Regions from separate parts of the Homo sapiens genome. Here region 2 is linked to region 1. Evidence: promoter capture Hi-C in 16 types of primary human blood cells and fetal thymus (Javierre and others, 2016). All regions are on one chromosome and are shown on one strand. The core of a region is centred on a gene start or on the middle of the fragment in contact, and the rest is flanking DNA. Distances in the headings are between cores, read along the strand shown. Region 1 holds the start of BARX2 (BARX homeobox 2). Region 2 has its middle 99 kb from the start of TMEM45B.

Region 1 (6,143 bases), core at 3,486-5,985:
CTGCTTCTGAATATCTATATCTATCGACACATAGCCCAAAATTACACAAGGAGAGTTAAATTAAAAGTCAAGCCAAGATCATCTACACTTAGATCCTAGAAGCAACTTAAGTGTCACCCTAGGATTTTTAAAAACCATTTTGTTTTATTAAACTTCGTGAGTTCTAACCAAGTGGAGATGCCTTGTGTGAGTTGAAATGTTAAAGAGGAAATTCTTTGGTTTCCAGTTGACAGAAAGCAAAGCAACCAAATCTAGAGTTTCCAGTCCTAACTTGGCAAAGATGTCCCTGTCCCCTTCTCTCTGGTTGGGCTGTGTCCCTAGGAATCAGGTGCTAGAATGGGGGTGTGAGTGTGAGGGGCTGGGGGTTTGGAGCTTCCCCTGAAGCTCCATGGAGGGTGTGAATTTTTATCCTTTCCATGTCTGCCTATGTGTGGCTCAGGGCATACCCGCCTGTTCCTCCGTGTGTGGTGTGTCCCCACTCCTCCACCCCAGGGTGCAGGAGCAGACGCTGCCTGGGTACAGTCACAGGAGGCTGGGAAGTGTCTGTAGGTCTCCAGCAGCTGGAAAAGGTTTGAGTCCTGTTGGCAGATGTTTGCTGTTCCAGCCACTTCATTAATGTTGGAAACAAAACCCCTCACTATTCTGACCAAAGCCCCACTTCATGATTGACAGCTGGGGTGTGCTTCCTCCCACAGAAGCCCTTTACAGTCTGAAAGCAGGAAAGAGTGAGTGGGAAAAAGAAAAGGGAGATGGGGGGCAAAAAGGGAATTGGGCTAGATGCCATTGCTAAACACCCGAAATGAGAGAGGCTCATTTAAAGAGAAAGACAAACTGAGTACAACTAATTAAGATTTGATGTCCCATCTAACATATTATTTTCCCATTCATTCATTTATTCATGACTCATTTACTGAGAACCCACTGTGTGCTTTATGGGTATTGGTGATACAAATGAATAATATAACATAGGGCGTAGGCCCACCTGGTCATTGTCCAGTGAGTGAAATAAACATGCAAAAGACAATACAGTATAGGATATGCCACCACAGAAGTAGGAATCGGCAGCCTTGGGGAGTGGGGAGACACTTCACAAAGGAGGTGACATTTGAGATAAGTCTCTAGGTTTTGGGGCAGAGAAGGAGGGGATAGGATGTAAAGGGCATTCCAGTGAAAGGGAACAAACTTGTATAAAGGCATGGATTATGAAAGCCCATCCTTGTGAAGTAGGTTTTGTGGTCACCATTTACAAATGAAAAAACTGAGGCTCAGCTTAGGGAGCAAAAGAGAGCGCAAGGCTCTAGACTCCAAGATCGGGCATCTCTCCCTCTCCACTGCACAGGGGACTTGTGCCCGCAGACCCCTTCTGAGATTTCTTGCCTCTGTAGCGCGAAATAGAAAAGATGGAAAATCCAAGGAGGTGAATTGGAATTTTTACTTCTTCACCTATTAAAACACTGCAGATTTCAAATCAAAGAACTCGTCTGCGGGAGTGTCTGGATTTTGTGAGTTTTGTGCCTGTGGCCGAGTGGAAGCGGAGAGGAGTGAGAGCGCTGGGCGACGCGGCCAGCCAAGGCGAGGCCGGTCCCTCCCGGGCTTGGGCTCTGTCCCTGCGCGTGAGCCGCCTGCAGCCTTCCGAGGGGCAGCACCGCGACCAGGAACACGCGAACGCGAGTCCAGACCCGGGTTTGGAAAAAGGGAAGAAGGAGAGGAGGAGAAGGGAAGTTAAAAAGAGAGAGAGAAAACAAGGATGAACGATGGGGAGAAGGGAGGGCAGAAGAGAGAAAACAGAAGCGGGAAATTCGACAGAGGAGGAGAGGCCCAAAGGGCGGGGAGCAATGCGGGGAAGGGAGAAGTGGGAGGGAAGAAGAGGAGAGGAGTCAGTGGCGGTGGAAGGAAGGGGAAGAACCAGAGAGAAGAAAAGAGGTTAAGGAAAAGAAGAGCAATGCAAAGTCGGGGCCCCGAATAGTGCCGCATTCTGTGGGCACACGCCGGGCAGATAGAAAGTATAGACGCGACGCGCTCGGCCCCTCGTCGGGCGTCGGGTCCTGGTGCTGTCGCTCAGGTGCTGGTCCCCAGCTCCAAGCCCGCCTCGTAGTCGGCGCTGCGGGTGAGATCGCCCGCAAGCACTCAGTTTACTGGCGGCTGCCTACCAGCGGCTCACTTTCCTCGGGGCGCCTAAAGCTCCCCGCCCGGCATTGCCCCGGGAGCGAACGCTGAGCCCCTGGGACCCAGCCCCGACTCGGCGCAGCGGTTTCCCTCTCGGCTTGCGCCCGGGAGAACCCCCTCCGTCGTGGCGTCGGACGGCGATGCCAGGGCTGAGCGGTGAGCTGTCCCGGGTCCCGCGCTTTGACCGCGGACCAGCCTCAGGGTCCCGCCGCGGAAGCAGGGGGCGCGCCTGGGGCCAGCCTGTAGACCCCAGAGTCCGGCGGCAGGACCCCCGGCGCCACCCGGACACCTGGCAGCAGTTCTCGCCTGCCCTGCAGCCGCCTCTGCATGGAGAAAGAGAATGAAAGAAAACAATTCTAGATGGAGAGGAGGGGAGGGGAGGCCAGTTTGCAAATACTTCGGGAATGAAGTTCCTCAAAGACGCGTTGCGGGCCTTGTCTAATGCTAGGCTGTGACTTGGCCTCTTAACATCTATTTTCTCACGCCTGTAATCCCAGCACTTTGGGAGGCGAAGCGGGTGAATCACGAGGTCAGGAGTTCAAGACCAGCCTGGCCAAGATGGTGAAACCTGGTCTCTACTAAAAAATACAAAAGTTAGCCGGGCGCGGTGACAGGCGCCTGTAATCCCAGCTTCTCGGGAGACTGAGGCAGGAGAATCGCTTGAACCTGGGGGGCAGAGGTTGCAATGAGGCGAGATCACGCCACTGCACTCCAGCCTGGGCGACAGAGTGAGGCTCGGTCTCAAAAAAAAAAGAAAAAATCTATTTTCTCTAACAGCCTAATGATTAGTCCTCTGGGCGTGTCCCTCCCTCCTAGTTTAATCACCGGCCCAGGCGCCCTCATTTACTTGCTTCCGCGGCCACCAGGGCCCCCTGGGCAAGCAGCTCCGCAGAGAGCCCGCCGGCACTCGCGGACGCTTCTAGGCTGGGAGCGGGGAGGAAATGTCACCGGCCCCAAACTCGGCCCTAGGGAAGGCCATCCGCGTCTATACTTCTCAGTGTCCCTGTCGTGCGTTTTCCTTCCAACCCCATGCACACTCATTCCAACATAAAGTCGTGGAAACGGGCGTGCACTGGGCTGTTCCCGCCGAACACCGGGCGCGACTCAGGCTGCCGGAGGCTTCCCGGGCGCGGAGGCTCGGCGGGGTCCCCTTTACGCAGCAATTCCAATGAACAACTAAAGTCCGTACAGATTTTGATTGGAACAGACCCTAAGACTAAGAGCCTGGAAAGAAAAAGGCAAATCACCCAATAAACGCCTGTCTTCGCGACTCTCTAACCCGGTCGTATCGCGAGGGATCCGGATATTGAAAGCCCCTTTGCCGGAAGACTCGGGCGCTGGGAGAAGCCCGCATGGGACAGGCTGCCCCAGTGCCCGCCGGCTCCCTAGAATCGTGCAGCTCTGACCCTTTCCAACGAGGAAAAAATGTTTTTATAAACAATGTTTTAAAAAAAACCGCACACTTTTTTAAAAAGTCAGAATCTCGCTCTTGTCGCCCAGGCTGGAGTGCAGTGACGAGATCCCGGCTCACTGCAGCCGCGAACTCCTGGGCTCAAGATTTCCTCCTGCCTAAACCTCTCCAATAGCTGGGACTACAGGTTTCCTCTTGCCTCAACCTCTCCAGTAGCTGGGACTACAGGCGTGCACCACCATGCCTGTTTTTAATTTTTCTTTTGTAAAGACAGGGTCTCCCTATATTGACCAGGCTGGTCTCGAACCTCTGACCTCAAGCTATCGTCTCACGTCGGCCTCCCAAATGTTGGGATTACAGGCTTGAGCCACCGCGCCCGGCGATAACTCACACTTTTATTAGTTTTTCTTTTCTTATCTTTTTTTTTTTCTCAGTTTTTTATGAGGGTAACGGACGGGGCCAGGGTCATTTATGATTTGGGATCTTGGGGCAGTCAAGTTTGCAACTTCAGCTCAAAAGTCTTACGCTCGGAGCGCGCAGGCTCAGCGCGGGCTGCGAGACTGCGAGTGGAGGGCTTGGGAAGCCGCGGTCTTCGGGAAACCGTCCACGCGGGGAAGGAGAAAGGCACGGTGGGTCCTCGGGGGCACTGGCTCTGTGGCCCGAAGTCCCGGGAGCCTAGTGAGGACTAGACTTCTTTCTAGTAAGAGACCTGAACGTGCCCTCCCGCTGGGCTGCGGACACTGGGAGCCGGGCCGGCGGGTGGCAGGACAGGCAGTAAGGTGCTCATGGGGAACACTGCCCCGGGGAGCTACCGGCCTGGGCCTTGGCCGCGGGCTGGGGCGGTGCGCGCTCCCCGCACCGCGCGCACACTCCTGCACACACACCTGGAGCGCGTCCCGGGGGGGAGGGGGAGGAGAGCCAAAACGAGCGTCTTAAAATAGAGAGCCAGGCAGAGGAGCGCGAGACACCAGAGCGGGAGGCAGCGACTGAGAGCCGCCGGGCACTAGGCGCGCAGGTCGGCGCCGGAGTGGCACGGGCGGGCGGGGGCGGGGTGGGCGCGGACGCCCCTCAGCACACACTCCGCACCCGGCCCTGCAGGAAGCTCGCGCTGATTGACAGCTGCGTTGTCCCAAAAAGGCTCAGCGAAGATGCTGATCTGCGGGTGGGTCTAGACGCGCGGCAGGCGCGCCCGCTACCCGCTCTCCTCCGCGCGCCACCCGAGCCCCGCCGCCTCCCCAGCTGCCGGGAGCGGGGCCCAGGCCCCGCCGTCGCGCCAGCCCCGCGGCCCCAGCGGGCCGGGCACTCGCAGCCGCGCTCGGGCCGGCGGACGCTCGCGCCGGCTCACCATGCACTGCCACGCCGAGCTGAGGCTGAGCTCGCCCGGCCAGCTCAAAGCAGCCAGGCGGCGCTACAAGACTTTCATGATCGACGAGATCCTCTCCAAGGAGACCTGCGATTACTTTGAGAAACTTTCCCTCTACTCCGTGTGCCCGTCGCTGGTCGTGCGACCCAAGCCCCTGCATTCCTGTACGGGTAAGACGCTCCGCTAGGGGATAAGTGGGGTTCGGTAGCTTTCACGTCCGTGTAGGTGGCCTGTGCTTTGCGATCCGAGGGCGAGAGGAAGGGTTAAGTTAAGGGATTCTTTTCCTGCGCCTCAGCAAGCGGTGGGCATTGCAAAGGCATCTGCGACGTGGCCGGGAAGGACCACGCAAGGTGTGGATGGCACGAGTGGAAATAAAGGCGGCAGGGCCTTAGGAGTGGGCTGCTCGCGCAACGCCTGATTGTCCTGCTCGGAGGAGAACGCTTCCTCGTTTCCTGCTGAAAGTTCAAACACTTGAGCAGGTTCAGCGTCTAAATCGTTGTTTCAGGAAGTGGTGGTGTGTGTGAATTTCAAACTTGAGCTTGGCGGCCTTGCATCTCACCTTGAGTTAACTTGTCCAGCCTCCTACTGTCTCCACTGTGAATTTTGCAAGTAAATCAGTATCCTGAGGTTCTCAACAAAATCTCGAATTCACTGAGCTTTGCTTACAATGATCGCCCTCTGAGAAAGTAGTTCTGAAGTACATTGTCTTTGTGGCACAAGCCGAAAAGGTCACCCTCGTTTGTCTTAAGTCAAGCCGAAAAGGTCACCCTCGTTTGTCTTAAGTGACCAAAACCAGCAATGGTAACAATGAAAACATTACTCACACCTGGTTTTCTCTCTTCACGGGAGGTAAGAGCAATAGTAAAGATAAAGAGAACTTAATACATATATTGAAAACGTAGTAGAGTTTCTATCGAAAATAAATCCAAGGTACTTTTAAAATTTTGAATGCATTAAGAGAAGATCCAAGTTTCAAAGTATCTCGGCATTGTTAGGATTTAGGTTATGGAACATGGGTATAATAAAACGAAAAAGAAGTAGGAGCACTTTTTATCAGAAAAAAGTTATTGAGTGTGCTTTCCATTAAAGGTAAGCATAAAGTATTTCCAAACCAAAAGAACCTTTGAGATTGTTAGTTGCATGAGAGGCATGAGATAAATTAAATTACACTTAAAATGAAAAAATGAAGGGCCAACAGTTTTG
Region 2 (5,678 bases), core at 2,468-4,967, 340 kb after region 1:
AGAAAAGAATTTTCAACCCAGAATTTCATATCCAGCCAAACTAAGCTTCATAAGTGAAGGAGAAATAAAATACTTTACAGAAAAGCAAATGCTGAGAGATTTTGTCACCACCAGGCCTGCCCTAAAAGAGCTCATGAAGGAAGCACTAAACACGGAAAGGAACAACTGGTACCAGCCACAGCAAAAACATGCCAAATTGTAAAGACCATTGAGGCTAGGAATAAACTGCATCAACTAACGAGCAAAATAACCAGCTAACATCATAATGACAGGATCAAATTCACACATAACAATATTAACCTTAAATGTAAATGGGCTAAATGCTCCAATTAAAAGACACAGACTGGCAAATTGGATAAAGAGTCAAGACCCACCAGTGTGCTGTATTCAGGAAACCCATCTCATGTGCAGAGGCACAAGTGGGCTCAAAATGAAGGGATGGAGGAAGATCTACTAAGCAAATGGAAAACAAAAAAAGGCAGGGGTTGCAATCCTAGTCTCAGATAAAACAGACTTTAAACCAACAAAGATCAAAAGAGACAAAGAAGGCCATTACATAATGGTAAAGGGATCAATTCAACAAGAAGAGCTAACTATCCTAACTATATATGCACCCAATACAGGAGCACCCAGATTCATAAAGCAAGTCCTAAGAGAGCTACAAAGAGTCTCAGACTCCCACACAATAATAACCGGAGACTTTAACACCCCACTGTCAACATTAGACAGATCAACGAGACAGAAAGTTAAAAAGGATATCCAGGAATTGAACTCAGCCCTGCACCAAGCGGACCTAATAGACATCTACAGAACTCTCCACCCCAAATCAACAGAATATACATTCTTTTCAGCACCACACCACACCTATTCCAAAACTGACCACGTAGTTGGAAGTAAAGCACTCCTCGGCAACTGTAAAAAGACCAGAAATTATAACAAACTGTCTCTCAGACCACAGTGCAATCAAACTAGAACTCAGGATTAAGAAACTAACTCAAAACCGCTCAACTACATGGAAACTGAACAACCTGCTCCTGAATGACTACTAGGTACATAACGAAATGAAGGCAGAAATAAAGATATTCTTTGAAACCAATGAGCACAAAGACACAACATACCAGAACCTCTGGGACACATTCAAAGCAGTGTGTAGAGGGAAATTTACAGCACTAAATGCCCTCAAAAGAAAGCAGGAAAGATCTAAAATTGACACCCTAACATCACAATTAAAAGAACTAGAGAAGCAAGAGCAAACACATTCAAAAGCTAGCAGAAGGCAAGAAATAATAAGATCAGAGCAGAACTGAAGGAAATGGAGACACAAAAAACCCTTCAAAAAATCAATGAATCCAGGAGCTGGTTTTTTGAAAAGATCAACAAAATTGATAGACCGCTAGCAAGACTAATACAGAAGAAAAGAGAGAAGAATCAAATAGATGCAATAAAAAATGATAAAGGGGATATCACCACCAATCCCACAGAAATACTAACTACCATCAGAGAATACTGTAAACACCTCTATACAAATAAACTAGAAAATCTGGAAGAAATGGATAAATTCCTCGACACATACACCCTCCCAAGACTAAACCAGGAAGAAGTTGAATCTCTGAATAGACCAATAACAGGAGCTGAAATTGAGGCAATAATTAATAGCTTACCAACCAAAAAAGTCCAGGACCAGATAGATTCACAGCCGAATTCTACCAGAGGTACAAGGAGGAGCTGGTACCATTCCTTCTGAAATTATTGCAATCAACAGAAAAAGAGGGAATCCTCCCTAACTCATTTTATGAGGCCAGCATCATCCCGATACCAACGCCTGGCAGAGACACAACAAAAAAAGAGAATTTTAGACCAATATCCCTGATGAACATCGATGTGAAAATCCTCAATAAAATACTGGCAAACCAAATCCAGCAGCACATCAAAAAGCTTATCCCCCATGATCAAGCGGGCTTCATCCCTGAGATGCAAGGCTGGTTCAACATATGAAAATCAGTAAACGTAATCCGGCATATAAACACAACCAACAGCAAAAATCATATGATTATCTCAATAGATGCAGAAAAGGCCTTTGACAAAATTCAACAGCCCTTCATGCTAAAAACTCTCAATAAATTAGGTATCGATGGGACGTATCTCAAAATAATAAGAGCTATCTATGACAAACCCACAGCCAATATCATGTTGAATGGGCAAAAACTGGAAGCATTCCCTTTGAAAACGGGCACAAGACAGGGAGGCCCTCTCTCACCACTCCTATTCAACATAGTGTTGGAAGTTCTGGCCAGGACAATCAGGCAGGAGAAAGAAATAAAGGGTATTCAATTAGGAAAAGAGGAAGTCAAATTGTCCCTGTTTGCAGATGACATGATTGTATATCTAGAAAACCCCATCGTCTCAGCCCAAAATCTCCTTAAGCTGATAGGCAACTTCAGCAAAGTCTCAGGATACAAAAACAATGTGCAAAAATCACAAGCATTCTTATACACCAATAACAGACAAACAGCCAAATCATGAGTGAACTCCCATTCACAATTGCTTCAAAGAGAATAAAATACCTAGGAATCCAACTGACAAGGGATGTGAAGGACCTCTTCAAGGAGAACTACAAACCACTGCTCAATGAAATAAAAGAGGATACAAACAAATGGAAGAACATTCCATGCTCATGGGTAGGAAGAATCAATATCGTGAAAATGGCCATACTGCCCAAGGTGATTTATAGATTCAATGCCATCCCCATCAAGCTACCAATGACTTTCTTCACAGAATTGGAAAAAACTACTTTAAAGTTCATATGCAACCAAAAAAGAGCCCACATTGCCAAGTCAATCCTAAGCCAAAAGAACAAAGCTGGAGGCATCGTGCTACCTGACTTCAAACTATACTACAAGGCTACAGTAACCAAAACAGCATGGTACTGGTACCAAAACAGAGATACAGATCAATGGAACAGAACAGAGCCCTCAGAAATAATGCCACATATCTACAACCATCTGATCTTTGACAAACCTGACAAAAACAAGAAATGGGCAAAGGATTCTCTATTTAATAAATGGTCCTGGGAAAACTGGCTAGCCATATGTAGAAAGCTGAAACTGGATTCCTTCCTTACACTTTATACAAAAATTAATTCAAGAGGATTAAAGACTTAAATGTAAGACCTAAAACCATAAAAACCCTAGAAGAAAACCTAGGCAATATCATTCAGGACATAGGCATGGGCAAGGACTTCATGTCTAAAACACCGAAAGCAATGGCAACAAAAGCCAAAATTGACAAATGGGATCTAATTAAACTAAAGAGCTTCTGCACAGCAAAAGAAACTATCATCAGAGTGAACAGGCAACCTACAGAATGGGAGAAAATTTGTGCAATCTACTTATCTGACAAAGGGCTAATATCCAGAATCTACAATGAACTCAAACAAATTTACAAGAAAAAAACAACCCCATCAACAAGTGGGCGAAGGATATGAACAGACACTTCTCAAAAGAAGACATTTATGCAGCCAAAAGACACATGAAAAAATGCTCATCATCACTGGCCATCAGAGAAATGCAAATCAAAACCACAATGAGATAGCATCTCACACCAGTTAGAATGACAGTCATTAAAAAGTCAGGAAACAACAGGTGCTGGAGAGGATGTGGAGAAATACGAACACTTTTACACTGTTGGTGGGACTGTAAACTAGTTCAACCATTGTGGAAGTCAGTGTGGCGATTCCTCAGGGATCTAGAACTAGAAATACTATTTGACCCAGCAACCCCATTACTGGGTATATACCCAAAGGATTATAAATCATGCTGCTATAAAGACACATGCACACGTATGTTTATTGTGGCACTATTCACAACAGCAAAGACTTGGAACCAAGCCAAATGTCCAACAATGATAGACTGAATTAAGAAAATGTGGCACATATATACCACGGAATACTATGCAGCCATAAAAAAGGATGAGTTCATGTCCTTTGTAGGGAAACGGATGAAGCTGGAAACCATCATTCTCAGCAAACTATCGCAAGGACAAAAAACCAAACACCGCATGTTCTCACTCATAGGTGGGAATTGAACAATGAGAACACATGGACACAGGAAGGGGAACATCACACACCAGAGCCTGTTGTGGGGTTGGGGGACAGGGGAGGGATAGCATTAGGAGATATACCTACCGTTAAATGATGAGTTAATGGGTGCAGCACACCAACATGGCACATGTATACATATGTAACAAACCTGCACGTTGTGCACATGTACCCTAAAACTTAAAGTATAATAAATTTTTTAAAAAAGCCAAACTCATAGGCACAGACAAGAGAACAGGGAAAGGGCTGGGGCTTGGGGAAACTGGGAAGATGTTGGTCAAAGTGTACACACTTGCAGTTAAAAAATGAATAAGTTCCGGAGTCACCATCCTGACAGCATGGTGACTATCCTATAGTCAATAATAATGTATTGTATACTTGAAATTCACTAAAAGAGTAGATCTTAAGTATTGTATTTCCATTACAAAGAAAAATAGTTGCTATAATGGTGATGGATGGGTTAATTAGCTTGATTGTGGTAATCATTTTACAATGTATACTTATATCAAATCATTACATTACACACCTTAAATATATACAATTTTTATTTGTATATATATGTCAATTATATATGTAGATGTCAATTATATATGTATATATTACATACATATATATGTATTGTCAATTATACCTCAATAAAGCTGGAAAAATATACATAAATTTTTAAAACTCCCACCATGGCCAATTTCAAGCAACCACAGTGAGGTCACTGATGCAGAGTTCGGCAGAGATGTTCCCAGTTGGCTCTCATGAGTGGGTGTGAGCCGCCCCAGCTCACCACTGCCTACGCAAATGCTCAGCACAGAGAGTGGGCTGTCATTCTCCACAAACCCTCCTGGAATCTTCTTAATGTAGTGAATTGAAGAACTTTTCTAGGTATCTTTAGACAGGATGACCAGTACTTGATGAAGGGTGGATGTCCTCAGACCCAGAGTAGGGAAACCATGTAAGCAGCTTCCCACACAGAACCCAGGTTGAACTGGGCTAATTTCTGTCTTAATGACAAGGATGCCAACAGTGGCAGGTGGGTATTTGGCAATCACTGAGCCACCCCTATCAATGTACTGGTGCTACAATAGATCTCCCAAGCTCTGAAACAGTACGTCAGAAAGACCCTGCCACCCTATCCTTTCCGCCTCTGTCGTTCACCTCCTTTTAAAGAGAGCTGTTTGGGGGAATCTCCTAGTTCCCTTTTCTTCCTCACCTTTCCTCATTTCTCTTGTCTTAGGTGAAGAATTGAGCTGGTGACCATTTGACAGTGTAACTGAGATAGAGAAATACTGATCTAGAAGGTATGGAAAGATCCCAGCCCTGCTGTCCTACAACCTTCCTGGGGCCAGCCTCTTTGTCTGCATAGCCAACAGGGTTTCCATGGCTTCCAAGAGGACATCTGACACAGGTATTAAGCTTTCTGAAATAAAAAAAAAAGATGTACACACACAGGATTAGCTTTTAAACCCTCCATGAGCGTTCAATGATGTAACCGATCACTCTCTTCCTAGACCTTCCTTCCTAGTCATCAATAAATCAGAGTTGGTAATGATCCTTCGAAGATTTCATGTTCAGTAGTTATTTGATTAAA

The links. Contacts are between HindIII fragments. The CHiCAGO score rates a contact against its expected background, and 5 or more counts as called.
Region 2: a fragment that was not itself captured here is called in contact with the fragment with the promoter of BARX2 in region 1 in 1 of 17 cell types (endothelial precursors); the score reaches 5.7 in endothelial precursors.

Annotation. Positions count from the first base shown.
Region 1 is chr11:129,371,113-129,377,255 of GRCh38, forward strand. It overlaps BARX2 (BARX homeobox 2), which reads left to right and starts at 4,736. Exons shown (of 4, transcript NM_003658.5): 1 at 4,736-5,110. The coding sequence starts at 4,924. The HindIII fragment of the contact is 13,394 bases long and covers 1-6,143 here.
Region 2 is chr11:129,714,372-129,720,049 of GRCh38, forward strand. No RefSeq gene overlaps it. Among named protein-coding and RNA genes, the nearest start is that of TMEM45B, 99 kb to the right of the region's middle. The HindIII fragment of the contact is 3,568 bases long and covers 1,934-5,501 here.